2 separate regions of the Homo sapiens genome follow, and region 2 is linked to region 1. Evidence: promoter capture Hi-C in 16 types of primary human blood cells and fetal thymus (Javierre and others, 2016). All regions are on one chromosome and are shown on one strand. Each heading gives the region's core, a stretch centred on a gene start or on the middle of the fragment in contact. The rest is flanking DNA. Distances are from core to core; before and after follow the strand shown. Region 1 holds the start of CSMD2 (CUB and Sushi multiple domains 2). Region 2 has its middle 23 kb from the start of MIR552.

The links. The method cuts DNA at HindIII sites, captures the fragments that hold promoters and counts their contacts. A CHiCAGO score of 5 or more calls a contact.
Region 2: a fragment that was not itself captured here is called in contact with the fragment with the promoter of CSMD2 in region 1 in 1 of 17 cell types (M1 macrophages); the score reaches 5.2 in M1 macrophages.

The regions. Positions count from the first base shown.
Region 1 is chr1:34,161,621-34,168,663 of GRCh38, reverse strand. It overlaps CSMD2 (CUB and Sushi multiple domains 2), which reads left to right and starts at 3,434. Exons shown (of 71, transcript NM_001281956.2): 1 at 3,434-3,753. The coding sequence starts at 3,567. It also overlaps a transcript of C1orf94 not described here. RefSeq lists enhancers at 4,924-4,983, 5,404-5,533. The HindIII fragment of the contact is 6,831 bases long and covers 1-5,756 here.
Region 2 is chr1:34,689,499-34,696,541 of GRCh38, reverse strand. No RefSeq gene overlaps it. Among named protein-coding and RNA genes, the nearest start is that of MIR552, 23 kb to the right of the region's middle. The HindIII fragment of the contact is 1,625 bases long and covers 4,507-6,131 here.

The sequences.
Region 1 (7,043 bases), core at 2,185-4,684:
CTCAGAGGGAACCAACTGTGTCGACCTCTTGATCTTGGACTTCCAGCCTCCAGAATTGTGAGGCAATACATTTCTGTTTTTTAAGCCACAGGGTCTATGGTACTTTGTTGTGGCAGCAGTCCTAGCAAATTAATACACCTTCTATTTCTCACTGGCTAAGAATAAAATGCAAACTCCTCGCCATCCCCTAATAGACCCTATGTGATCTGCCCCACTCCCTATCTCCCATTGCTTACCTGGATCCAGCCCCATCCTCCTCCTCCTGGCCCCCTTTCCTTTTTACAGCCTTGCCTGTGCTCACTATACCAAAAGCTCTTTCCCCAACTTTGCATGGCTGCCTTGCTTAATTCTATTATTATATTAATTAATTAATTAATTAATTCATAGACAGATAGTCTGGCTCTGTCACCCAGGCTGGAGTGCAGTGGTGTGATCATGGCTCACTGCAGCCTTGAACAGCTGGGCTCAAATGATCCTCTGGCTTTAGCCTCCTGAGCATCTTGCTTAATTTTAGATCCCATCTTCCACCGTTGCCATCTCAGAGAGGCCTTCTCAGACCATCTCCTTAAAGCACATCCCCATATTGTTTCTCCTAGCACCATAAACTTTCCTTTTGTAGCATCCTTAATTAGTAACTTTATGTGTATTTGTATACATATTTTCTGCCTTCATCAAGTCAGGGACTGTGCACTAGGTGTATATTCATTGTCTAGCACAGCACCCAGGCACATAATGATGCTCAATAAATATTTGTTGAGTAAATGAATCTTCATCTTTTCAAGGTCTTTATCCATGTCTCAGGTTCCAGACCAAATCCTACTTTCCTTCTTAAATTAGCCTTCTGATCCCCCAAGTCCAGGAAAAGCTCACTGTCTTGACATGCCTCTCGGTAGCATGCCGGTTCTTCAGTCATGGTGATTATCGCTGTCTGACGGTATCAGTTACGTGTGGGTTTCCACCTCTGGCCTGCATCCTCCCAAAGCAGGACCACACACTGTGCATCTCTGCAGGGCCCAGAGCACAGCCTCGCTCAGGGCCCCCGAGCACAGGAGGCGCTCAGTGAAAGCACGTGGACCCAAATAGATCAGAGAGCAGGAATGGCGGAGGATGTGAGTAACTGGGCCTTTTGCAGGGATAAAATAGGTGCCCTGCCCTCCACAGCCCCCAGGGAGAAGGATGACAAACGCTCCTTTTGCCCGGGAAAGTTCTGGGGGTAAATCTCATCTGCCCGTTGCAGCCACAGAGCAAAGTTCTGGAGCTGAGAAGAGGGTAAGAGAAAGCCCATTGGCCTGCAGCCCCAGAATTACAGAGCAGCCCAGACTCTCTTCTGCCCAGCTGTGGGCTGCACAGGAGGCCTGGGCATCTCTGCCAGTTCCTTTCTCTGGAGGAGAACCCCGCCTCCAAGAGAGGGGTAAAGTCGGAGCTTAGAAGCCAGGAGCCCACCCCCAGGCAAGCCCAGCTAACAGCCCCCAAGGCCACCACCACCACTCACTGCTGGCGTAGTCAGTCCCTTCCTCCTCTCCAGGGCTGGTGGGAAGGCTGAGCCCTCTCTTTCGGGGGCTGAGTCTGGACAATGGGAAGGGAGAAGCCCCCTCCTCACTGCCCCGGGAACATAAAGCAGGCCTTTCACTGAGGAGTTCTGGCTGCTTCGGTTGGTTCTTGGCACCCAGCAAGGCGGCGTCGGGAGGGGCGGGCATACAAGCGTGTTGGGGGTGGGGACCAGGCCCGCGATTCTGAGGAGATTCGCCCGCCCAGGGCCACCGGGCTGGCTCCCCAGCTGTGGGATGAGCTCATGCAGGGAAACCGGAACAACTTGGGGTGGGGGGAGGGAGGAAGAGTGGCATCTAGGAGGCTGCGAAAGCGTGGCTCTGGGGAGGAAGTTTTTCATGGGGAGTAGGGACAAGCCTCCACTCCTCCAGCCCTGCCCCCGCCCCCCAATTCATATCGTCAACTCCACAGCCCCTCTTCACACCCTTCCTTGGATGGAAATTCCTGGCCACGCTGACAGCCGGCCAACCTGGGTCGCCAGCCACCCCCAGCCTGGCTCGCCATCCCTACAGTCCCTCTCCACACCCTTCCCCGGAAATTCTCAGGCCCCACCGCCCGCCGGCCACTGCCCCCTTGGCCACACAGATGCCAACGCTCCGTTTTGGCCAAATCAGGCTGCCCTAAGCCCGGAGCACAGCTTCTCTGGGGTGTGTCGGCAAAGGGGGCGGGGGTGCCCATCGCAGGTGCCTTTCCACTGCACGCGCCAGCAGAAGCCTCCTCTCTGGACCTTGCCCCTCCCAGTTTCCTCCAGCCTCCCCCCATGAAGCGTCTCTTCCCTCTCGCCGAGAGTTTGGCGTAGACAGCGAAGGAGCCATCGTGACTGGCGGAGAAGCCTGGAGTAGACGAGACAGAGACGGCGACCGAGTCGGGTGGGGGATGGGGTGGGGACCGACACTAAGCCCTTGGGGCCTAGAGGCAGCCGCTACTGGGGAGAGGTGGGGAGCAGCTCACGTCCTTGGGAAGAACTCTCTTGGTTTGGGGCCTTGGCTGGGAGGAGGAAGGGGAGAAGAAGAAGTAGGATCCGATTATTTAAATTTGGGGATAAATTGTACTAGTAACTCTTGCACCGTCCTTCCACCAACCTCACTCCCCACCCCCAACTCGCGTGCACACAGGGACCGCCTCTGCCACCCTGAGATTTTTGTCTTAGGGTAGGAGTGGGACCGCACTGGGTCAAATGAACCGGTTCCCCCCCCTCCCCACCCCACACACAACCCCCCTCCACCGCCCTCCAATTCTTAACCCTGCCTCTGTCTACGCACACACGCCCCTCTCCTGGGATGGGGTAGGAGGCTATTGTGAATGAGGCTCATAAGCATCGCCCCCGGCCCTAGATGGCAAGTTCAAAGCCACCACCCAAGATCAGCTGGTAAGAGCCAAGACTTGGGGAACGCGTCCTTCTTTGGTTACCTTTTCCCAGACAGGATTCCAATTTCCAAACGTGGAAGAGGTGTGCGTGTATGTGCCTGTGTGTGTGAGTGCGTGTGTCTCTGTCACTGTGTGTGTGTGTGTGTGTTTGTGTGTGTGTGTGTGGAGAGGGGGGTGTATTAATGGGTGATGTTATAAATGAAAACAGGAGGACTGAACTTAAAAGAAACTGGTCAATTGCAAAACAGACACGGATAAACAACCCTTTAGATGTAATTTGTGGTTTATCTGGAGGTGGAGGTGGCGCTGAAGAGGAACCCCCGCCCCCCAATATTTTATCCTTAGCTGCGCCTCCACCCCCAGCATTTGGAGCGGCGGAGAAGCGGCTCCGGAGTGATTAATCCGGGGATAATTCACCCCCTCCCGCCCCCCGGCGCGAACCCCGCGAAGCGGGATTGGAGCGAGTCATTTCCGAGAGCGCAGCGCGCCTCTCCCCGGCCGGGCGGACACTTGGTTCATTCCAGCCGCAGAAGCTCAGGGCTCCCGCGTACCGGGATTTTTTCCGAGCAGAAAAAAGCTCCAGAGCTCTCCTGACCTCCTTTCTCCTCGGCGGCGAGCGGAGCCTCTCCCTCGGCGCTGCCGGCCGCGCCATGCCGCGCTCGCGGGGACGGGAGCTGGGGCGCTGCGGCTGCCCCGCGGGGAGGGCTCGCGGCGAAACCGGGATTTCGGCGCTTGTGCCGGGCGCCGGGAGCCGCTGGGGCCGCCCGCCGCCGCCAACGCCGCCGCCTCTGCTGCTGTTGCTGGGCTGTGGGTTGCTCAGCGTCTCGGCCGCCGCGGGTGAGTCCAGCCGCGCCGAGGAGCCAGCGGCCGCCGCGCGCCCCACCCGAGCCCCGAGCCCACCCATCCTCGACCCGGTCCCAGTCCCTCCCCCCGCCTCTATCCCTGCCTGAATCTCCCACCCTCCCAGTTGCCTACTCTCATTCTCATCCCTGCCTCCGTCTCCCACCCCACCCTCAGCCACGTCCTCACCTCCACCCTCACCCTCACTGCTGCCCCAACCCCAGCCGCAACTTGGACGGATGCGGCCGGTGTGGGGGCCTGGGAGACAGACATCCCCGCCCGGGGTTGCGGGGCACCTGGTCTGTGGCTTCAGTTTCTCCAGCCTCCCAGCCCCCACGGTGCTAGGCTTTTTCCCGATAAACTTTCCGGGAGCCCTACTCCCCCGGCTCCTGATTCTGCCAGGCACGCTGGTCCTGGGGGCTGGAGAGGAACCGTGCGCCCCCTCCCCATTTCTGCGTCTGCAAGGTCTGCCCTTCCCTGCCCCCGCCCATTTTCTCCAATTGAAACCGGTGCCCCCTCTGGAACCGACTGCAGACTGCGGCCGCCATCCCCCTCCTCAAATGCTACCCCTCCCTCGGCGCTCGGAGCTAGGAGGGGGTTCAGGTGGACGCGTGCCCACGGTGGGGGTCCCGCGCATTCCTTGCAGGAGGGTGCAGGTGGGGGCTGGAGGGTGTTGAGGGATGGGAAGGAGGGGGTGGGGGTTGTAGCCCGAGGCGGGGGAGGGAGTGCCGCCGCCAGGCTTCGCGCTGCCACATTCCCCTCGGTGCTCACTCCGCGCCAAAGTGCCCTTTCCCGCGCCCTGCTGCAGCCGAGCGCCTCGGCTGCGGCAGCGGCAGCGGCGGCGCGGGCGGCGGGACCAGCTCCCGACGACCGAGTCCGGGAAGGGGCAGATCTAGCGGGTGCGGAGAGTCCCGGAACTTCGCGGGTGTCTGGCTGCAGCTTGCAGCGCGCGGGGGAGGTACGCGAACCTTCGAGGGAACCCGGTCCCCTGTGGAGGCTACTGGCCGCGACTGGTGCCCTCCCGCTTTACCCACAGCACCCCTCCGAAGCTCAGTTCTAGCTACAAGCTAGAAAGTTCCGTGTGCCCGGGTGGAGACGGGTCCAAACCGGGATGCCTGGAACCGCATTTTCATTTAGCCCGCGAGGCTGACACCCACTGGGGGAGAAACCGAAACACCTGCTGGCCAGGCCTAGACCTAGGGCACCTTCGACCTGGAGCCGTGTTTTCTTTTTTGTTTTTGTTTTTGTTTTGTTTTGTTTTGTTTTGAAACCACCGATTGAACCTCTGAAGGCTTGGCCTGGACCACCCCAGTTCCCCTTCTTGGGAAAGTGCGCCTCTCCTCTGGCAGGTCAGTGAGTGGCGAGCTCTCTGGCCCACTCTGGCCTTCAGCGTCTTGTGAGTCTGTCCTCGCAGACCGTGTCGCCCACCGCTTAACCGCGGCATGTTGGGGTTCTTGGTCAGGGAGGGCGCCCCGAGCCAGCTCTGGCTCTCTCATTCCTAGCTGACGGGACTTTCTTAGGTTCTGCTAAGAGTCATAGCCACCGACACCCAGAGAGGGGCGCCCGCGGTGCGCGCGCCTGGGAGCTCTGGCCTCTCGCACACCCACACCCACTGGGAGGCTGTGCATACCGACGCTGCTGGTCACCCAGACTTGCCACATGGGCGGTGGGGGAATCGCTGCTACCTCCCGCCAGGCCTCCCGGACGTACGTTGAGGCGAGGCCGGTCTCTGGCTTAGCTGATTGGAGAATGTCTCGGCATCGGACTGAATTGTTTTTCTGGCTAGATTTGTCCCTGCCCCTTGGGCATATCCTGCCCCTAGGGGAGAGAAAAAGGCCGACTCACCGGCGCTTGCACCGCTCAGCGGTGCTGGAATCCTGCCCTATAGAGATCCATTTGCTCGCAGCTCCTTGCTCAGTAGAGAAGTTGCGGGGAGGGGGCCTTGTGTTCATGGCTTGGGGTAGTTCCTCTCCGGCAGGCCCTGCTCTGGCTTGCAAGCTTCCAGTACATTTCTTTTCTTTTCTTCTCTTTCTTTTTAAATTTTTTTTAAGACGGAGTTTTGCTCTTCTCGCCCAGGCTGGAGTGCAATGGCGCGGTCTCAGCTCACTGCAACCTCCGCCTCCTGGGTTCAAGCGATTCTCCTGCCTCAGTCTTCCGAGTAGCTGGGATTACAGGCGACCGTCACCACGCCCGGTTAATTTTTGTATTTTTAGGAGAGATGGGGTTTCACCATGTTGGCCAGGCTGGTCTCGAGCTCCTGACTTCAGGTGATCCGCCTGCCTCTGCCTCCCAAAGTGCTGGGCTTACAGATGTGAGCCACCGCGCCCAGCCCAGTACATTTCTTTTTAAGCCTTTCCCGCCTTTAGATGGGCTGTTTGGCCTTGCAGGCAGCAGAGATTTGGAAATGGACTTGGTGACAGAAGATCGGCAGGATTTGGTACATTAGAAGGGGAAACACATTCATTTTGTGTTCAGTTCACACTGTTGAATTTAAAAGATGCTCAGGACTGAACCGTCTCCCTTCCTCGGCTCAGTGATCACTGGATAAATGAATAAAATAGTTTGAAAAAGGGGAGTCTCCTCACCCACCCATACCTTCTCCCCTCAACCCCTTTAGTCCTTGTCCTGCCTTGCACTCCCCCTCCCCCTCCCCACCCCAGCCTCCCTGGAGACTTCCCACCAATTACCTGCTGTCCCTATCAATCATCCTCCCTTTTTTTTTTTTTTTTTTTTGAGAGGGAGTTTCACTCTTTTGTTGTCCAGGCTGGAGTGCAATGGCGCAATCTCGGCTTGCTGCAACCTCTGCCTCCCGGGTTCAAGTGATTCTCCTGCCTCAGCCTCCTGAGTAGCTGTGATTACAGGCGCATGCCACCATGCCCAGCTAATTTTGTATTTTTAATAGAGAAGGGGGGTTTCTCCATGTTGGTCAGGCTGGTCTCGAACTCCTGACCTCATGATCTGCCCACCTTGCCCTCCCAAAGTGCTGGGATTACAGGCGTGATCCACCGCACCTGGCCACCCTCCCTTCTTAAAACACATTTCCCTTTGACCTGTGAACAGGCTCATCTTTACCACAAAACAAGCCAAGAAGCCTTCTTGGCCCTATTGACCTATCTAAGCCACTGCCCCATCTCTTTTTGTCTTTTAGTCACTTCTCTTCAAAGGGGTCTTCATGTCAGTTTTCTCTACTACCCGTCACTCCTTACTTCAACCTCTGTCTCCAGGATGACACTGGAACACTCTAGAAGAGAGCACCAATGACCACCTCAATTGCCAAATACATTGTA
Region 2 (7,043 bases), core at 4,070-6,569, 530 kb before region 1:
TAATGTAAAGAGATTAGAAAAAAATGGAGGGAGGTGCTGGTTTTGTTGGGGTCATCAGGGAAGGCCTTGCTGTGCTGAGGAGGCTGCACTGGTCATGAACTGCCTGTAGGGGAATGAGTCATGCCAAGATCTGGCAGAGGGAACCACATGTGCAAAACCCCTGAGGCAGAAATGAGCTTGGCATGTTTCAGGAATAGACAAAAGTCAAGGTGACTGGAGCAGTGTGAGCCGGGGGAGAGGAGTGGCTGATGGGGTGAGAGTAGACAGGGCCGGGTTGCATGGTGTCCCCTTTGCTGGCCATGGTAAAGAGTTTGGATTTTGTTCTAAGCGTGATAATCTTTCATCTTGGAGCACTGACTTTTCACAGATAAAGAAACTGAGTCACAAGGAGGTGGAGATAACTTGCCCAAGAAGGAAGGTCGTGCATGGTGGGACTCTCTGGAACCAATCCTTGCTTTCTTTCTTCCACATCTTTCTTCCTCTAGTTAGCTGTGAAAAAATTAGGAGGGGGCAAGGAAAGAAAGTGGGCAGCAGCCTCATGACCTGTCCTTCCTCTGTAAAGTAGGACAGATGGTCTTCAGAGAGGGAGGGGCAGCGGTGGGTCAGTGAGACTGGCAGAGGGTGGAAAGGGTTGGCACAACTGTGGAGCAGAATGGGAAATGGACAAGTCCGGGAGTGAACAGGAGGATTGGAGGGCAGAGGAGAGCCTAGCCAAAGCTGGAGACCGCGAATCTGTAATGGAGTGGATCAGCACAGTTATTTGATTTTCTCCAGCAGTACTTGGCAGGCAGCCAGCCTGGGACAGGGGCAGAGAGGAAGGAGGGATCTGTGAATAAAGGTGGGGATTGGGACCGCAGGTTCAGGGGCAGTGGAGGGTGCTGGTGGGGATGTGGTGGAAATGACATATACACATGCGCAAGCATATGTTTTGGTGTTTTCTAGGACAGGCGCAATAAAATGTTAATTAATTTTCAACAAAGGTGGTTATTTACAGTTTTAATTCATTGAGGTTTCAGTTTTATACATGTATAAGATCTTGCTGACAGATAACATCACTGTCATGAGCTGAGCTGTGCCCACCCCACCAAATTCATATGCTGAAATCCTAACCCTCAGTACTCAGAATGTAACAGTATTTGGGGATAGGACCTTTAAAGAGGAGATTAAGTTAAAATGAGGCCATTAGAGCAGGCCCTAATCCCATCTACTTGACGTCCTCATAAAAAGAAATTTGGAGGCAAAGAGACACCAGGGGTGGCGTGCACAGATGGATGACCGTGTATATGAAAAGGGCGGCAAGAGGGTGGCCATCTGCAACCAGTGAGAGAGGCCTTGGAGGAGACCAACCCTGCCGACACCTTGATCTTGGACTTCCAGCCTCCAGAACTGTGAGGAGTAAATTCTTGTTGTTTAAGCCACTTAGTCTGTGGCATTTTGTTATGGCAGCACCGGCAAACTAATACAATCACGGATCAGAACGTTTTCCTTGGGTCAGACTGTGTCCTAACTCAGCCTGCTCAGCCCTGCCTGATCCAGCCCATGCCAACCTTTCCATCCTCACTGTCCTTGCTCCCCTGACTTCTCTCATGCTCAGTGTTCCAGCCACACTGCCTTGAAATGTCCTTCTTGTCTCAGGGTCTTCCCACATTCTGTTCCCTCTGCCTAGAACATCTTTCCTCTCTTTTTTTCGTCTAGATAACTCCTTATTCTTTGGATTTCCACTCAAATGTACCCATTTTTTATTAGGGAAGCTTTCTGTGACCATCAAACATTCCCCTCATCCCCGGCCACCAACTAGAGCAATCCTTCTTTGACATGTTGTCTTTGTTGTTCCTTCTGGGACAGATTCCAGGACAGGGACCTGTGTGCATGGAACCGACACCCACAGGGTATGAGGTGGGAGTGAGAATGAGCAGGTGGAGTGGTAGAGCTGTGATAATGTCATAATCAAGGCCAACATCAATTCCTTAAGGAGCTGTGGAGCTGGGACCACCCAGTAGCTTTCCCGTGACTGCATTTACTGGTCATTGGCAATGACATACCCCAGGGATGGGGCTTGGTCTTTGCAAGGTGGCTGTTAAGGGCTGAGGGCAATTCTTGAGGAAGACTCAAGTGAGAGCTGCCAGCATCCAATACCCTTGGCAGTTGGGAATAAGTGTCTCAGCCCTGAAGGGAGGATTGGGGGGCACACCACAGCACCCACTACCTATGCTCCCACCTTTCCTTCAGAACACTTGGCGCCAGTTGTAAGTAGATATTTCTGTGATTAGTTCACTAATTTTCGTTTCCCACTAGATTTAGAGCAGAGAGGAGTTCCTTGACAGTAAAAGCGTCAACCCACAGGGCATAGAGGAAGGAGGTGGGATGGGTGGATATATGCGGAGAAGATAGTTGGACCAGGGAATGGAAGAGCAGGGACCTCAGGAAAATCTAGGAGAAAATGCTTGTGTGGCTAGAATGACTTGACATTGGTTATTATTGTAGGAAAAAAGGGAACCGAGTGAGAGGGGAATGTTAGTTCATTTGCCACCTGCTATGTCCCAGGCACTTCCCTGTTTAATCCTTATGACAACCCTGGGACTAAGGATTGTTGCAGCTTGAAAAGGGTTGATGAGAGGTTGGGCATTTCTAAGAGGAGGCTGATAGGTTGGCTGCTAAGAGGCCTTTGAGCCTGGCATCAACTTTGTGAATTTATTGCAGAATAAATATGGCCAACTTCTGGCTCCTTGGGCTCCCCTTGTCTCTGCTCCAGGCTAGGCATGTTCTCTCTGTTCACGCAGTCTTTTGTCAACTGATTTAGTTAATTAGGTTTCTGCTTACTCAATTACCATCACCCCCTCCCAAAGTCTTGCCTCCCCGTGACCATACCCAGGCCACCATGATTGGCTTTTGGGGTCTTCCCAAACTCTGTTCAGTCACATTTTCAGGTCATCTCTTGGTTTGTGCCAACAGACAACATATTTCATCATTCTGCGTGGATTTTACTAACCTCTTTCTCAGAGGGCAGCCTTGCTTCTCGGTCCCACGCTCACTTCCACATGTGGCTGTCAGGTATTGCTTCTGTAGCTTTGACAGTGAGGGGCTGAAGCTCAGAGAGGTTAAGTCACTGGCCCAGGAGAGCTGAGATTTGGTGGCAGGTCCTCTGACTTCCAAGGCAGAGTGAAGGGATGGATAAAGGACAGGAGGGTCACAGGTCAGAGGTGCACAGCCTCAGGTTCCATGGGGAGTTCTGGGCATAGATTGCTTTGTGATCTTGTACTTAGGGTCTCCCAAGGCTTGGTAGAGACAGTTGTAGCCAGTTCAGCCAAGAGCCACTGGATCCTTGGAGCCACATCTGTGTTGGCCGGAGCTGAGCCTGTGCTCCAGGGATCTCTCAGAGCTGAGCCTACTATGGTGGCCGCAATGGGAGCTGACTAGTGCTGCTGCCTGTGGTTGGGTAAGTTGAGTCTGGGGGGTGATTGGGGTTAAAAACCAGCTCACTTATACTCTCCAACCTTTGCAGCCTGGTTTGGGGCTGCCAAAGCCTAGAAGAAGGAGCAGCTTCTCCCTTCCAGACGAGGCAGCATTTTGTAATTTTACCACCTTGTGGGGGAGGCTTTTTCTAATTCCTGCAAAGTCCAGCCTGAAAGTCAGCTGAGTGGGTTGTGCCCAGCACTCCGTGAGCTCTGCAGACCTCTCATATGCCCCTAGATTTCTGGAAAGCCCTCTAGGCAGCCAGTACAAGGTCAAACACTTCTGTGCAGCGAATCCCTGCAGGGGGATTTGTTCCGGGAAGGGAATTACATTTCAATTTGATTTAATTCAATGAGAATGACACCAAATTGATCAGCTGGTAAAATGCCATTTGACGGGCAGATGTGCTCTTTCCAAGTCAATAGGAACCACCAGAAAAGTCAGTCTTGTTTTTTCAGACAGAACTGAAAGTTTTACCCATTTTCTTTGCCTTTTAAAAAGGGCTCAAATTCCCTGAAGGTGGAGAGACTTTTCCTGATAGGCCTGTTGACCTGAGCAAAGTGATTAAACCACCAGGCACCCAGGGAACACGAAACAAGTTCTATATCTGTTTTTTCATTTTTGTTTTTAATTAAAGGCTCCCTAAAGCCTAGGAGCTCTCCAGCTGTGGTTCCTTGCCCCTTTCTATATGCCAGCTTATTTTCTGGGGTGTAAGCAGACATTTGGGTACTTGACCATGTCCCCTGCAGGAGTTCGCAGAAACCATCTGGTCACCTCTGTTGACCTAGAAGGGTGCAGCGGTCCAGACTTCTGTGCACTTTGTACCAGACTCTTGTATGATCTTGAGAAATTTCTCAGATTCTTTGAGCCTTAGTTCTGTCATCTGTAAAATGGGCATGCAGTCTCCCTTCGTCCATCTCTGGGCTACTCCCTTTGGAGTAGTAACATGAAAAATAGCTATGGCCCCACAATAACCACTGCCATTGTTCCACACACCACAGTCACTAGCATTATTTTTGAGCAGTTACCATGGGGTGGGCACTATTGAAAGCTTCATCTGCATTAAATCGCATAATCCTTGTAACAATTCCATCAGGTAGATACAGTCTGTTTGGCTACGGTGCTTATTTTGAAAATGCAAATTTGTTTCAATGCGATCCATGTGTCAGGAAACTATTTGAGCATCATGTTAGTTTTGCATTTGCTTATGTCTGATTTGGTGTGTGAGAAACACAAGGTGAGTGCAGAAAATTGCACCCAGTTGAACTGAGCTGTGTAGGAATATACATAACACACACATGGACACACTTCAAACATCTCCCAGCATTCTCAGTTCCTGTGTGTTATGGCCACTCACAGGATGCTACAACCTTCCTTCTGACTCCAGATCTACCTCCTCCCACCACCTGACAGTAATTCTGAAGCTCGCTTCCACATACAGAGTGAAGTGTGTGTAGCGTCATGCTTATTGTAGTGTCTATGTATGTCTTTTATGGCATTTAACATGTGTAAAACCGTGTTACCCTTTTTATTAGGTTTCTTTTATTTTTCGTGTGTCGCCGAAGGAAGTTTATGAGCATTGTACCCCAACTCCATTGTTCTCATGAACCCTGTGGTTTTTGCACAGTGTGGTGATTCTTTGTTTTATTTTATTTTATTTTTTTCTAAATTGTGATAAAAAGACACAGCATAAAAATTTTCACTGTGATTTTTTTTTTTTTTTTTTGACAGAGTCTTGCTCTGTCGCCCAAGCTGGAGTGCATTGGCATGATCTCAGCTCACTGCAACTTCAGCCTCTTCGGTTCAAGCAATTATCCTGCCTCATCCTCCTGGGTGGCTGGGATTACAGGCATGTGCCACTGTGCCCGGCTAATTTTTGCATTTTTAGTAGAGATGGGGTTTTACCATGTTGGCCAGGCTGGTCCCGAACTCTTGACCTCAGGTGATCCACTTGCCTTGGCCTCCCAAAGTGCTGGGATTATAGGCATGAGCCACCATGCCCAGCCCAATGTGTCCATTTTAAAATATACAGCTCAGTGGTACTAAGGACATTCATATTGTGGTGCTACTGTCACCACCATCCATCCACAGAATTATTTTCATCTTAAAAAAACTGAACTTCTATACCCAGTTCACAACTCCCCACTTCTCTTCTCCCCTGCTCCTGGCAACCACCATTCTACTTCCAGTCTCTAGAAATTTGACTACTCTATAAGTGGAATCATACGGTATATGTCCTTTTGTGACTGTTTTATTTCACTTAGCATAATGTCCTCAAAGTTCACGCATGTTGTAGCATGGGTCAGAATTTCCTTCTTTTTTAAGGCTGAATAATCTTCCATTGTGTGTATATACTACACTTTGTTTATCCATAGCGGGTGACTTTTAGGAACACTTACGAGGCATGACAGCAGAGCTATCCTGTTATTTTTCTGTTTTGCACATGACGAAACAGGCACAGAGTGGTTAAGTGACTTCCCCGAGGTTTCCCCACTAATAAATGGGAGATGTGAGATTCAAGCCCAGGCCTTGCTCATTCTGCAGCTTGTGCCTCTGACACTGTGTCACCTCAAATGCTGTGTTACCTGCTTCCTTTTTTTTCACGTTATTGTCATCAAACCAGACGATGTTGACTTTGAGTCAGCTTGGTTATTAATTTCCTGTTGTTAACAGAAGCTTTAGTGTCTGAAATCTCTGCTGCACCATCTGGAATTTTTAATAAAAACTCAAGGAATTTCCAGGGGTTTCTGTGTATTGCATATGTGTATTAGCCAGGGAAAAATGCTATTTAAAAATAGAAATGCCTACAGCCACTTTTAAACTCCAGGTGTGGGGCGAGGAGGTGCCCAACAGAAGGAAGGCTGCTCTTTTGTTTAAAAAAAAAAACAAAAACACTATAGTCAGGCTTTTTGGATTATTCAAGGGAAGGCTCACTCCCTACCTCCACCTCGAATTGTCTGGAAAGGGGAGGCTCTAAACTAAATTGCTCTACAGAACAAGCTAGCAGGAATTCCCGAACAGTTCACTGGCAGCTCAAAAGGGAGGGAGTTTTCAGGGTCTTGTAACAGTCAGGAAAAGAGGAGATTAAATAATGTTCATGGTAGAGAAATTAAGTGCCTCTGAACAGGGCAGCAGTCTGGGGCTCCAGAAGAGTGATAAGACAGATGGGTACACAGTCATAGTAATAAAGAATACTATGGGAAGTATCCTTTGTTGAGGTGGTTAAAGAACTCTTTGATGGTGACAATTTTAAATGTTTTCAGCTGTGTGCTATTTTATACCCTCCTTCACCCTTAACGTAGTCAGCTACAGAGAGCAGGCAGGCTTGGGTTAGTGACACCTTAGTGCAGGAAGGTGGATGGAATGGGTTCCTGAGAAGGAGCAATTGTAGGGAACAGGACAGCAGGCGTGGGAAGTGCAACATGCGAGGGGCTCTTCCCACAAGTAGCTTAGATGGAGGCTGAGATTGCTTTTCATGGATGACAGAGGAATGGACAGTTCAGAAGGCAGCACACATGGCCATCTGGGGAGCTGGCTCCCAGGGAGTGATCCACATGCTGCCCAACCTGGGCTGTTCTGCAACTTAAGGC